Linked DNA regions of Homo sapiens: region 2 is linked to region 1. Evidence: promoter capture Hi-C in 16 types of primary human blood cells and fetal thymus (Javierre and others, 2016). All regions are on one chromosome and are shown on one strand. Each heading gives the region's core, a stretch centred on a gene start or on the middle of the fragment in contact. The rest is flanking DNA. Distances are from core to core; before and after follow the strand shown.

What was found. Contacts are between HindIII fragments. The CHiCAGO score rates a contact against its expected background, and 5 or more counts as called.
Region 2: a fragment that was not itself captured here is called in contact with the fragment with the promoter of SMCO4 in region 1 in 2 of 17 cell types (endothelial precursors and megakaryocytes); the score reaches 6.1 in endothelial precursors.

The regions. Positions count from the first base shown.
Region 1 is chr11:93,541,374-93,546,781 of GRCh38, forward strand. It overlaps SMCO4 (single-pass membrane protein with coiled-coil domains 4), which reads right to left and starts at 2,018. Exons shown (of 3, transcript NM_020179.3): 1 at 1,903-2,018. RefSeq lists silencers at 1,509-1,748, 1,879-1,928, 2,089-2,218. The HindIII fragment of the contact is 4,665 bases long and covers 201-4,865 here.
Region 2 is chr11:93,296,037-93,301,444 of GRCh38, forward strand. No RefSeq gene overlaps it. Among named protein-coding and RNA genes, the nearest start is that of DEUP1, 32 kb to the right of the region's middle. The HindIII fragment of the contact is 1,097 bases long and covers 1,509-2,605 here.

The DNA of each region.
Region 1 (5,408 bases), core at 768-3,267:
GCATGCCAGAGGCAAGAGGAACCAGCTCACCACTTCTCAAGCCAGAATGGAAAAGATGGCAGAAGCATAGTTGTACAAGGACCCCAGCATCAGTCAGACAGAAGGAAACCTATAATATTATGCAATGAGAGACCCTGAGGATGTTCTTCAGACAAACCCCAGCAGGACCAATCCAACTCCAAGCTTGAGCGTCCACTCCAAGCTTGAAGATTAAACAATAAGAAAAAATTCGGGTCCACAGGTGAAATACACACTTTCTAAGCACAATGAGCAACTTTATAGTAGATAGCTGGACAACCAAGTACACTAACTGCAAGCATAAGAACAGTATTCATGTTGTAAATCGAGTACCAACTACTATTAGTTTTTTGTTGTTTTGCTTTTTGCAATATTTCTTCTCATATTTTATTTTAAATCTAAGCTAATTTCTTTATAAGAACAGGCTAAGGCTTATTTTCTGTGGCTGATCCAGCCTTACAAGAAAAAAGATTTCACTGTGTCCCTCAGAAACCTACTCCTGTCTACATCACACTGTCGAGCTCTCTCTTTATACCCCATGTGACAGATAAGAAAACAGAAGTCCAGAGAGAGCAAGTGACTCATCCAAGGTCAAACTTCTTGCTAACACATCTAGGACGAGAATAAGGGCTCAAGAAGCCCACTATGGGTCTCTTGCCGTATCACTGCTGCAAATGACCAGGCATACTGGTGTCTTGAATACAAAGTTTATTTGTAAAGGGGAAAAAAAAAAAGCCAACATGAGTCATCTGCATTGTCAACGGGCTCCACACAGGTTGTTCTAATAAAGCATCCAGCACCTCCAGAACCACTTGTTTCTGAAAGCACCAACCTACGCAGACACTAGCAGGCCATGTCTTCCACCCTTGCCACCCTCGAGGCTGTGAGCAGATGCGCTGTTGGGCTCTGGGGATCTAGAGGTGTCACTTAAAGAGCAAGGGAGCCTGGAGCTTGGCAGTACTGACTGGATGAGTGGATGGGTGGGTGTATGAGGACATGGGAGTGTTTTCTGACAGCTCCCGGAGATAGTTATGATATCATGCAGCCTAATCCCACTCATCTTGGAACACCCCAAACATCTCATCCGCTCAGCTGTCCCTCCTCAACTTCCTCAGGGCAAAAGCACTGCAGTCTGAGGTGAATCTGGCCGCTGGGGAGGGGCGGTAGTCGGCCCCAGCAGCAGAGGAAGCAACGCTCAGCTCCCTCCTCCACCCACCCCGTACAGGAACTCCCCACTGGGTCTTCAGATGCCAGAGGCGTACCCAGCTCGGAGCCTGCCCCGGGTCTCAGGGTCGGTCCCGAAAGAACGGGGGAGGAGGAAGGCTCTATCCCGCCCCCGCCTCACCTCTACTCCCCGACCCCCAGGCGCCGACCCTTCTCACCCGCAAGGTCCGCCGCCGGACTCTTGTCCACTCCCAGAGACCCTGAGCGCACCCCTTTCTCGGCGTCCTCAAAGGACCCGCGTTTCCCACCTTCCCATACGGGGCCCTCCCGGCCGCCCCGGCCCAAGCCCTTTGCACTGCGTCCCCCGGCCCCTGAGTCCGCCCCGCACCCGCACTTCCCGCCCGGCCCCGCGGGCTCGCGGTCCGCCCCAACTTTTCCCAGCCCCCGCCCCGCAGCAACCGGGATGCAGCGTCTCGAGCCGCGACGGGCAGGCGAGCTCGAGTCCCTCGGGCCCCCAACCCCGCCCGCACGAGTTGCGCTCGGGACCCGCCGGGCGCCCAGGCCTGGGTCAGCAGCACTGCGCGGAGGCGGAGCCGGCGTGGCGGGAACCGTACTGTCCCGGCGCCGCACCCCCGCCCGGTGCCCGGTGCCCCGTGCCCCGCGCCCGCCCGCCGGCTCGCCCGCCCCGCCGCCGCCGCCGCCGCGCCGCTCCCAGCCCACCTGCCCGCGGGCGCCGCCGCCGCCGCCGCCACCACTGCCGGGAATACGTGGCAGTGGCCGCCGCCGCTTGCGCTCCCCGCCTCGCCTCTCCTCTCGGCGCCCGCGCGGGCGACTCTGGCGCGCCAGACCGCAGCGCCAGGCGCCCTCTGCCGCCGGGAAGCCGAATCCTCCCGTCCTAACCCTAACTCGCTGGCTGCCCCCGCCCGGGCCTCGGCTCCCGCCCCCTCTTCCCCGTTCCCGGCTCAGACTGTCGCTTCCGAGCGACCTGGGTTCTCGCCCGGCCTGCTGCTGCCGCTGCCTCCAGGAAGTTCGCCCTGACCACCTCTGCAGGCTCAGCGCGCTTCCTCCGGCTCCCGCGCAGCGGGTGCTTAAGTCACCCCCTTGTTGATATATTTCCTGCTTCTTTGAACGCCTCGCCCGTGAGATAGCAGAATCGGAAAGGGGATAGTTGGAGGCAAACGCCATGTCTGTTGTGTTCACCATTCTCTCCTCCAGGGCAAGGTTAGCGCCCTGTCTGGAATACTGAAGTGCGCAATAAATACTTGTGAAGAGAGCAAACGAGTAGATGAATGAGTTGAGACTTTTACCGCTGTCTACCCAAGTAGGCTTTGAAACCTCAAGCGGACAGAGATCCTGACCTGGATTTGTTTTTTGTAACTTACACGTGCATATGTGTGCGCAGCTCAGCATAAATAAATGAGATTCACAATTCCCCACCTCGGACCAGCGCCAAATCCGCAAGAGGCCCACGGCTAAATGTTATTCAGGGCTTTTGGTCAAACACGTTTAGGTTTGAGATCTACCTCTTAAAAGCTGGGCAATCGCGGGAAAGCTCATCTCCCTGGCCCACAGTGAACACGTCTATAAATTAAGAATAATAAAACCTACTTCACAGAGTTGTGAGAATTAATTGAGATGGTGCACTATAAAGTTCTTTACGCAGCCCCGATGTGTGCGGTGGTATGTAAATGGTAGTTATTGTTGTATTACTACTGATGCAGTAGGTGATTTTAAAAACTATCTTCGAAATGTAAAATATTGACTACCTTTTCACCTTAAAACCTTTATATGTGTGGTATTGTCACCTGCTCAGCAAGGCCAGCCCGGGGAGCAAGGCCACTCCTGTAACCTCTTCCCCTCCACCGGTAAAAATATAACAAGTCTTGGGGTTTTTTTGTTCTGTTTTGAAGAATTGTGGAACCCACTCTTCTGCAGGTTTTCCACCTGGATTTCTGTGGCCAATCTCTTAATTAACAAGTTTTTATTTTAGGGATGTCAAAGACAGGGAGCCCTTTGAAAGCACCTGCAGTCTACTGGCTCTTCCTGTTTTCTTCCTGACCCTCTCTCAAACAACTTAAGGCTTTTTTTTTCATTTTTACAGGAAGTGTCCTTCCTGCTGCGTACAAAAGGCAGCAATGCAGTAGAGTGGGATCAGAGGGGATTGGGCTGCATACACCTTGGGCTTTCTGCACCTCAGTCCCCTCAACGGTAAACTGTGGAGAATAAGACCTTGTCACATTGGGAGATCATTCATGATCCGGTCTGTGAAGGAAATAAGGAAATACCTGAAACACAAAGATATTTAATAAAAGGCAACTATTGATCAGTTTATTTAGCATGTATTTAAGGAGCATCTTTTTAGTGTTCTATGCGCTGAAAGAATGAGGGGAACACGCGTGTGTGAGGTAAGTTTCCTACCTTCAAAGGAGTTTGAGCTGTAGCTCCACACTAGGGCAGAGGGATTGGGAGCATATGGGATGCAGCTAAATATGAAATTAGCAAGCCTCAAGGTTTAAATTGGGGCAGTGGTACTGCCGTGTGAATTGCTTTAATTCATTATCATTGTAAATGCCATTTTCCTCTAAATATTATGTACACAACTTCCCAAGGCCACTGCTAAAAATTAATGAATAATTTTATGAGGCAAGCAGAGCCACTGATGTAGGACTCAGTCCCTTAATAAGGTGACTCCACATGCTCCCTTATAGTAGTAATAACATAGATATTGTGTCTGTGAAAGTGCCATCCTTGGCTGGGCGTGGTGGCTTACCCCTGTAATCCCTGCACTTTGGGAGGCCGAGGTGGGTGGATCACCTGAGGTCAGGAGTTCGGGATCAACCTGGCCAACACGATGAACCCCGTCTCTACTGAAAATACAAAAACTAGCTGGGCGTGGTGGCAGGCACCTATAATCCCAGCTACTTGGGAGGCCTGAGGCAGGAGAATCACCTGAACCCAGAAGGCGGAGGTTGTAGTGAGCTGAGATCATGCCACTGCACTCCAGCCTGGGCAACAAGAGTGAAACTCTGTCTCAAAAAAAAAAAAAAAAAAAAAGAGAGAGAGAGAGAAAAGAAAAAGAAAGTGTCATCCTTTATAGGTTAGAGTTGTGTATCTTGCAATGCAAGTCTCAGAGGAAAAGTTTACACATTTTACACTAATGGCTTCTAATGAATCACCCCTACTGAGTTGTCCTTCTGTAGCTCCCTCCCACGTTGACCCTGGAGTTGGCCTTGTGACTTCCTTTAGCTACTGGGACATGAACAAATATGACACAAGCAGGGGCTTTCGATGTGCACTTGTGCCTTGCTCCTTGCTTTCTTGAAATGCTATCCTGAGACTGCCATGAAGAAACCTGGTCCAACTCCTTGAAGAGGAAAGACCCTGAGAAGAGAAAGCCTTGCTGTCCCAGCTATGCAGCCCACCAGCTCTCAGCCACATGAGTGAGCTCCAGGGAAAGCCAGCCAAAAATAGTCCAGCCAACCCAGGAATTGTGAGAAATAAAATGGTGGTTGTTTCAAATCACTAAGTGTTAGGGTGGTTTGTTATACAGTAATAGATAACTGACACACAGATCACTCACAGGCACTCCTGCAGTTACAAGTTCTAGATGAAATTCACCCAAGAATCAGTACTCTTGCTAGCGTTTTCTGTTATGAAGCATTCAGTTGAAGTCACTAAATCTAAGCTTAGCAGAGCATCACACTTCATGTAAATACCCTCTTTGAAAGTTCTTCATTGAATTGGTTACTGAGCCTAGTACTGTTTAAAATCCTTTGGCAGTCAACATAACAATGGGCTGGCAAAATCAGCTTGTAAGCTACCAAAAGCTTTAAACGTTAGAACTCCCTGGAACATCAACAGCAGGTATCATAGAGGTTAGGTGTGTTTATCTCTCCCACTTGATTGTAAGCTCCTTAATGACAATTACATTTATTGGCATGGTTTTATCATAGATCACGAAACATCAGAGATGGAGTTAGAGATCATCTAACCCACCACCTCATTTTACAGATGAGAAAACTGGGGCTAAGAGAAATCATCAGAGCCTTACAAATATCCAAGGTCCTGGAGCTGGCTCAGAGCAGAACTGGGATGACCAATTCACAGTTCTTTACGCTGTTAGTTGAACTCTTCTGTTTTTCCTTTGTGACATTTTTGCTATTTAAAATATTCTTCCCATGCTCAAAATATGTCTGTAACTTTCCTATGTGCTGGTGATAAAATCT
Region 2 (5,408 bases), core at 807-3,306, 250 kb before region 1:
TGACACCATTTGTAATTCATTAGCTTGTATTTTACAATATATTAGCATCAAATGTGAAATACTCTGTCATGGTCCTGGCAAGCCTGTGAGTTTCATCTTAGTCTGTTGTCTAGAACTTTAAGATTTTGACATGGATGTCCAGAGACAATTCCAAATGATTCTTGCAGATCAGGAATAAGTTAATTTATCTGGAAACTTGCTAGGTATAATTCATTACCTTGAGAAACATGCTTACCTAGCAGCCATCCAGCATATGTTTGTCTAGTTTAGAGCAGATTTTGAACACCAGACTGCCATAATGTGAATGAATTGTGACATGATCCTGGTAAATTGCGGACAGCATCTGCTGTACTGCACCTGGCACGTGTCCTTCTCCCATAGTGAGTCTGCAGATGATTAACGGTCCTTAAAATTCACATTATTTTGAAATAATGCCTGGATAACCCCACATGCATCGTTAACAGCTCCTGGAACAGATGGAAATCTAACAGTGTCATAGATTTCATAAGTTTGTTTTTTGCTGATGTTAAAACCCTCTGGAATATTTATTTTAATGACCTGTTCTTCTGGGAATCTGAAAAGTAATCTCTGACTGACAGACACACACAGTGTCTGAAATGTAGTAATTTAATGGCTAAATTTAGTTTGACTATCCCTTCAACTATTTAAGTCTTAGTTATTAAAAAATTCCCAAATCGTCAGACATCCTTTGACATCATAGAGCATTCAGAGTTCCTCTGAGCTTGAATACTTTTGTAGGGAGCATAGCACAGAGTTTATGTTTAAAAATATTTATAAGGATGTTTCTGGTTTTATTAATAAAGAGAAAGCTGAACTGTCTGAATTTTAGAATTGACGGAGTTGCTTCATGTTTATTATTAATCTCTGTGACTGATCTAGAGCTGTACTATATTTTTGACCCATTGTGTAGTGTGTACACTCAAGTATATGTCTGTGTGTGTGTGCACATGTGTACAGATCTTTATGGGACAAGGCAAACACATTAGTGAAAGCCCAAGCATGGCCTTGTCTTTGTGATCATTATTGTCTGCACAATTCAACTTGGTTTTGCTTCCTCCTTCAAGCATTGACAGACAACTTTGCTCTCAGCCTCATCCTGCCACGCTGCTTCATCGCTCCAGTACCGTGTCAGGAAGTGCTAATTTCTCCCTCCCCATGTATGGTAATAAAACAGTAGCTTTTAGCTAGATACACCGTTGTTCATGCAAAAATTCCATTTTCCAGTCTTCTTGCAGCTACATGTGGTCAAATTACCTCATTTAGAGAATAAGACATAAATGGAATTTCATGGAGTGCATGCACTGTCCCTCTTGGACCCTTTCCATAACCTGCTGCCTGGAACACACCAGCTCAACACCTTGGGCTCCAGCAGCCATCTTGTGCAAATGTTGAGTGAGGTCCACACAGTAAACAAGAAGGAGCCTGGTTCTCTGACAACTAGGGGACCTCACGAGTCTGCCTATCTTTTGTTGTTTCATTTTTCTTGAAGCTTTATTCTGTACACAGATAGTCTCTAGAGCAATATTTTCTAAATGATACGCAGCTTCTTAATGCCTTTCTCTGACTAGATGTAATTGTTCCAGCCTCAAATTACCCAAATGGATTCCTATGTATTCTGAACCTACCTTGGCACTGCTCTTAACACCGGTCATGCTTTTTGATTTTTCTAAGAGAATACAGGGTAGTCTATCCGTATTCTTTCTATGTTTAAACACTATTTATAGGAATTCTAAAAGTTGTAAAATATGCCACATCAGTATTGAGGAAATTTGGTGCAATGAAGTTATCTTACAGATCACTGAACCTGCCCATATCATTTTACAGATGAAAGAAATGGGACTCAGAGGATAAGTGATTTAACCAGTGTCACACCATTGGTTTGGCAGAATTTGGGGTCCTAGGCCTTCTGGTGCTTTTTCGAACATTGTACCATTACTCCACATTGTTCCATATCTCATTTACCACACACTGCCTAGGTCTTCCTCTCATGGCCTGAACTATCATCTCCTTTGAGACTTTGAGGGGCCAGAAAATTCATGCTATAACCTTTTGCCCTTGCACATTAGCCATGTGATCCATATAATGATGAGGCAGTTATAATCAAATTCCAGGAAATATGAAAGTGCCATTGAAAAATGTCAGGAGATTTTAACAGATCCTGTGCTTGATGGGAACAAGTGTTCTTCTTGAATCTTGTACAACAACTCATTTTCATCAAAGAACAAATAATCCTACCACTGCAGTAGTTGAAATGAAAACAGAGAGAGGAAGCCATGATAAAAGAGTGACAATAAGTCCTTGTAGATGGCTGTTAAACATCATCCAGATAATTCTGGTATTCTATTTTTCTATCACAAGGTTTTTCTTTTCTCTTCCTTTTAGTAATCCCTTTTCTGAAGCTGTTCAAACCTCATTAAGTTGTCATGTTGTCATGGTAGCCTCATCTCGAAATGTGAATTAACTATATACTGACCTGAAGGAAAATGATTTTCTTATGAAGTTATATGCCAATACTGCTAGAGAAGAGATATACACTATTTTGAAAACTCTCAGCAATAAAATTCTGTTAATCGTGGTGCTGTAAAGCTTTGAAGTATATCTTTATGTTAATGTTGAGAATATTTTTTAAATTCTAAATGGCTTTTTTCAACTGTAGCAATTTCACTGGAATGCTAGAGTTCTACAGTAGTGACTATCATCCTTTAATTAAGTTGGTTTTCAGAGTTAGGTATACAGGGATATATGTTCTAGTTTGGTGTACCATAAAACATATTTTGGGCTTTTTTCACTTAAGTTCAGAAACGCAAGGGCAGGCCTGTAAAGGATTATTTCCTCTTAGGCCAAGAATGGCAAATGGTTTTCTTCTGAGGACCCAAATCTTATATGCCTAAAACTGGATTCTGGGAAGTATTGAGTCTGTCTCCAGGCTCCAGAGAGAGAGAGTTCTTATCAATTAGTAATGTCTCCCACAGAGAAAAAAAAACAGTGAGGTAGCACCCATGTGGCGCATTTACTCTCACCAAAAGATTGTCCTCATTGTCCCTTTGTTTTCTTTCTTTTTGTTTCAATTTTAAATTTTATAAGACATATATAAATACATATATATCTTTTTGACTATATATATATATAGTCCTCATTGTCCCTTTGTTTTCTTTCTTTTTGTTTCAATTTTAAATTTTATAAGACATATATAAATATATATATATATATCTCTTTTTGACTATATATATATTTTTTATATATATATAGTCATGTGTGTGTGTGTGTCTGTGTGTGTGTGTATGTGCAGGCAAAAATACTCAATTTCTTATAGACCTGGCCTTGCATTTCTGAACATATGTGTGTGTGTGTGTGTGTGTGTGTATACATATGTAGTTAGTCAAATAGTTTTAAAAGGCTTATAATGAAAACCAGTAGTTACCTGATCTACCTTCCCTGCCCCACATTTTCACTCCCAAAGGTAACCATTTTGAAGTTTTTTTTTTTTTTTGAGACAGAGTCTCACTCTGTCACCCAGGCTAGAGTGTAGCGGTGTAATGTCACCTCACTGCAACCTCCACCTCTCAGGTTCAAGTGATCCTCCCACCTCAGCCTCCAGAGTAGCTGGGACCACAGGCATGTGCCACCACACCTGGCTAATTTTTGTATTTTTTTTTTGTAGAGATGGGATTTTGCCATGTTGCCCAGCTTGGTCTCAAACTCCTGAGCTCAAGCATTCCACCCACCTCAGCCTCCCAAAATGCTGGGATTACAGGCGTGCCATGGCACAGAAGTTCTTTGGCTATGCTTTTGGTATTTGTCACTGTACTACTCAGGGTTGTCAGTTGCAAACTACAAAACTGACAATGAATATTATGTAGTTCATGTTGATGCTAAACTTCCAAGAACAATGGTTAAAAATGTGGGGCAGAACTGTCCTAAAAAAAGAAACAAATTCTACCACTACTTTCCCTGCTAATGCTGTTAGGTTGGTGCAAAAGTAATTGCGGTCTTTTTCATTAAAAGTAAAAACTGCAATTATTTTTGCACCAACCCATGGTTGCCCTCCAAAGCAGAATGATTCTGTCCAGCCCACATCAGCAAAACGTTTTCCATGCAGGGCCACCTTTCTCAAGTTGTTCACTTCTGTGTAAAAATCTCATGTGCGTGAGTCTGGTAGTAAGGCCTAGGTCACAGGTGTCTGTGCTAGCTGCAAATGACACTGCAGAACAGAATTTTCTGGGTTAATTTTGGGAAGACAAGACTCATACATCAGAAAGTTCCCCAAATATAATAAGATGTTGTTTAGACAGGGCCAGAGCAAGATGGCCAAATAGAACCCTCCAGCAATCATCCCCTCCCCATCCCCGCAGGAACAACTATTCATAGAAAATTTTGATTCTTTCATTAGAATCAAAAATCAGGTGAGTGATCACAGTATCTGGTTTTAACATCAAGGAAAGAGGCAGAGAATGTGTGTGCTTTGGGGAGAAAGAGCAAAACGATTATGGAACTTTGCATTGGAATTCAGTGCTGCTCTGTCACAGTGGAAAGCAATGCAGGTAAGAATTTGACTGATGCACATGGAGGGAGCATTTAGACTAGCGAGGGCTAGTCTAATTGCCCTCCAGAGGAGTTGTCCATCCAGGCAAGAGAGAGAGAGAGGGAGAGATTATGGTAGAAAATTTATACAAAGAGATAATAACAGAAAACTTTCCAAACCTAGAAAAATATATCAATATTCCAACACAAGAAGGTTATAGAACGTCAAGCAGATTTAACCCAAAAGAAGACTACCTCAGACATTTAATAATCAAACTCTCAAAGATCAAAAATAAAGAAAGAATCTTAAAAGCAGCAAGAGGAAATAAACGAATAACATATAAAGGAACTCCAAACTGTTTGGCAGTAGACTTCTCGGTGGAAACCTTACAGGCCAGGAGAGAGTGGCATGACCTACTTAAAATGCCGAGGGAAAAAAATCCTTTATCCTAGAATATTATATCCAGTGAAAATATTCCTTAAACATGAAGGGGAAATAAAGACTTTTCCAGACATACAAAATTGGAAGGATTTTGTCAGCTGAAGAGAGTTCTTCAATCTGAAAGAAAAAGACATTAACAAGTGTTAAGAAAACATCTGACAGTAAAAAAAAAAAAAGAAAGAAAGAAAAGAAAAGAAAAAACACTCACTGGCAATAGTATGTACTCAGAAAAACACAGACTATTAAAACATTGTAATTATGGTGTGTAAACTACTCATATCTTGAGTAGAAAGACTAAAAATGAACCTATCAAAAATAATAATCACCAGCAACTTGTCAAGACATAGTATAGAAATAACAAAAAGTTAAGAAGTAGAGGGTTGAAGTTAAAGTGTAGAGTTTTTATTATTAATTTTTCCTTTGC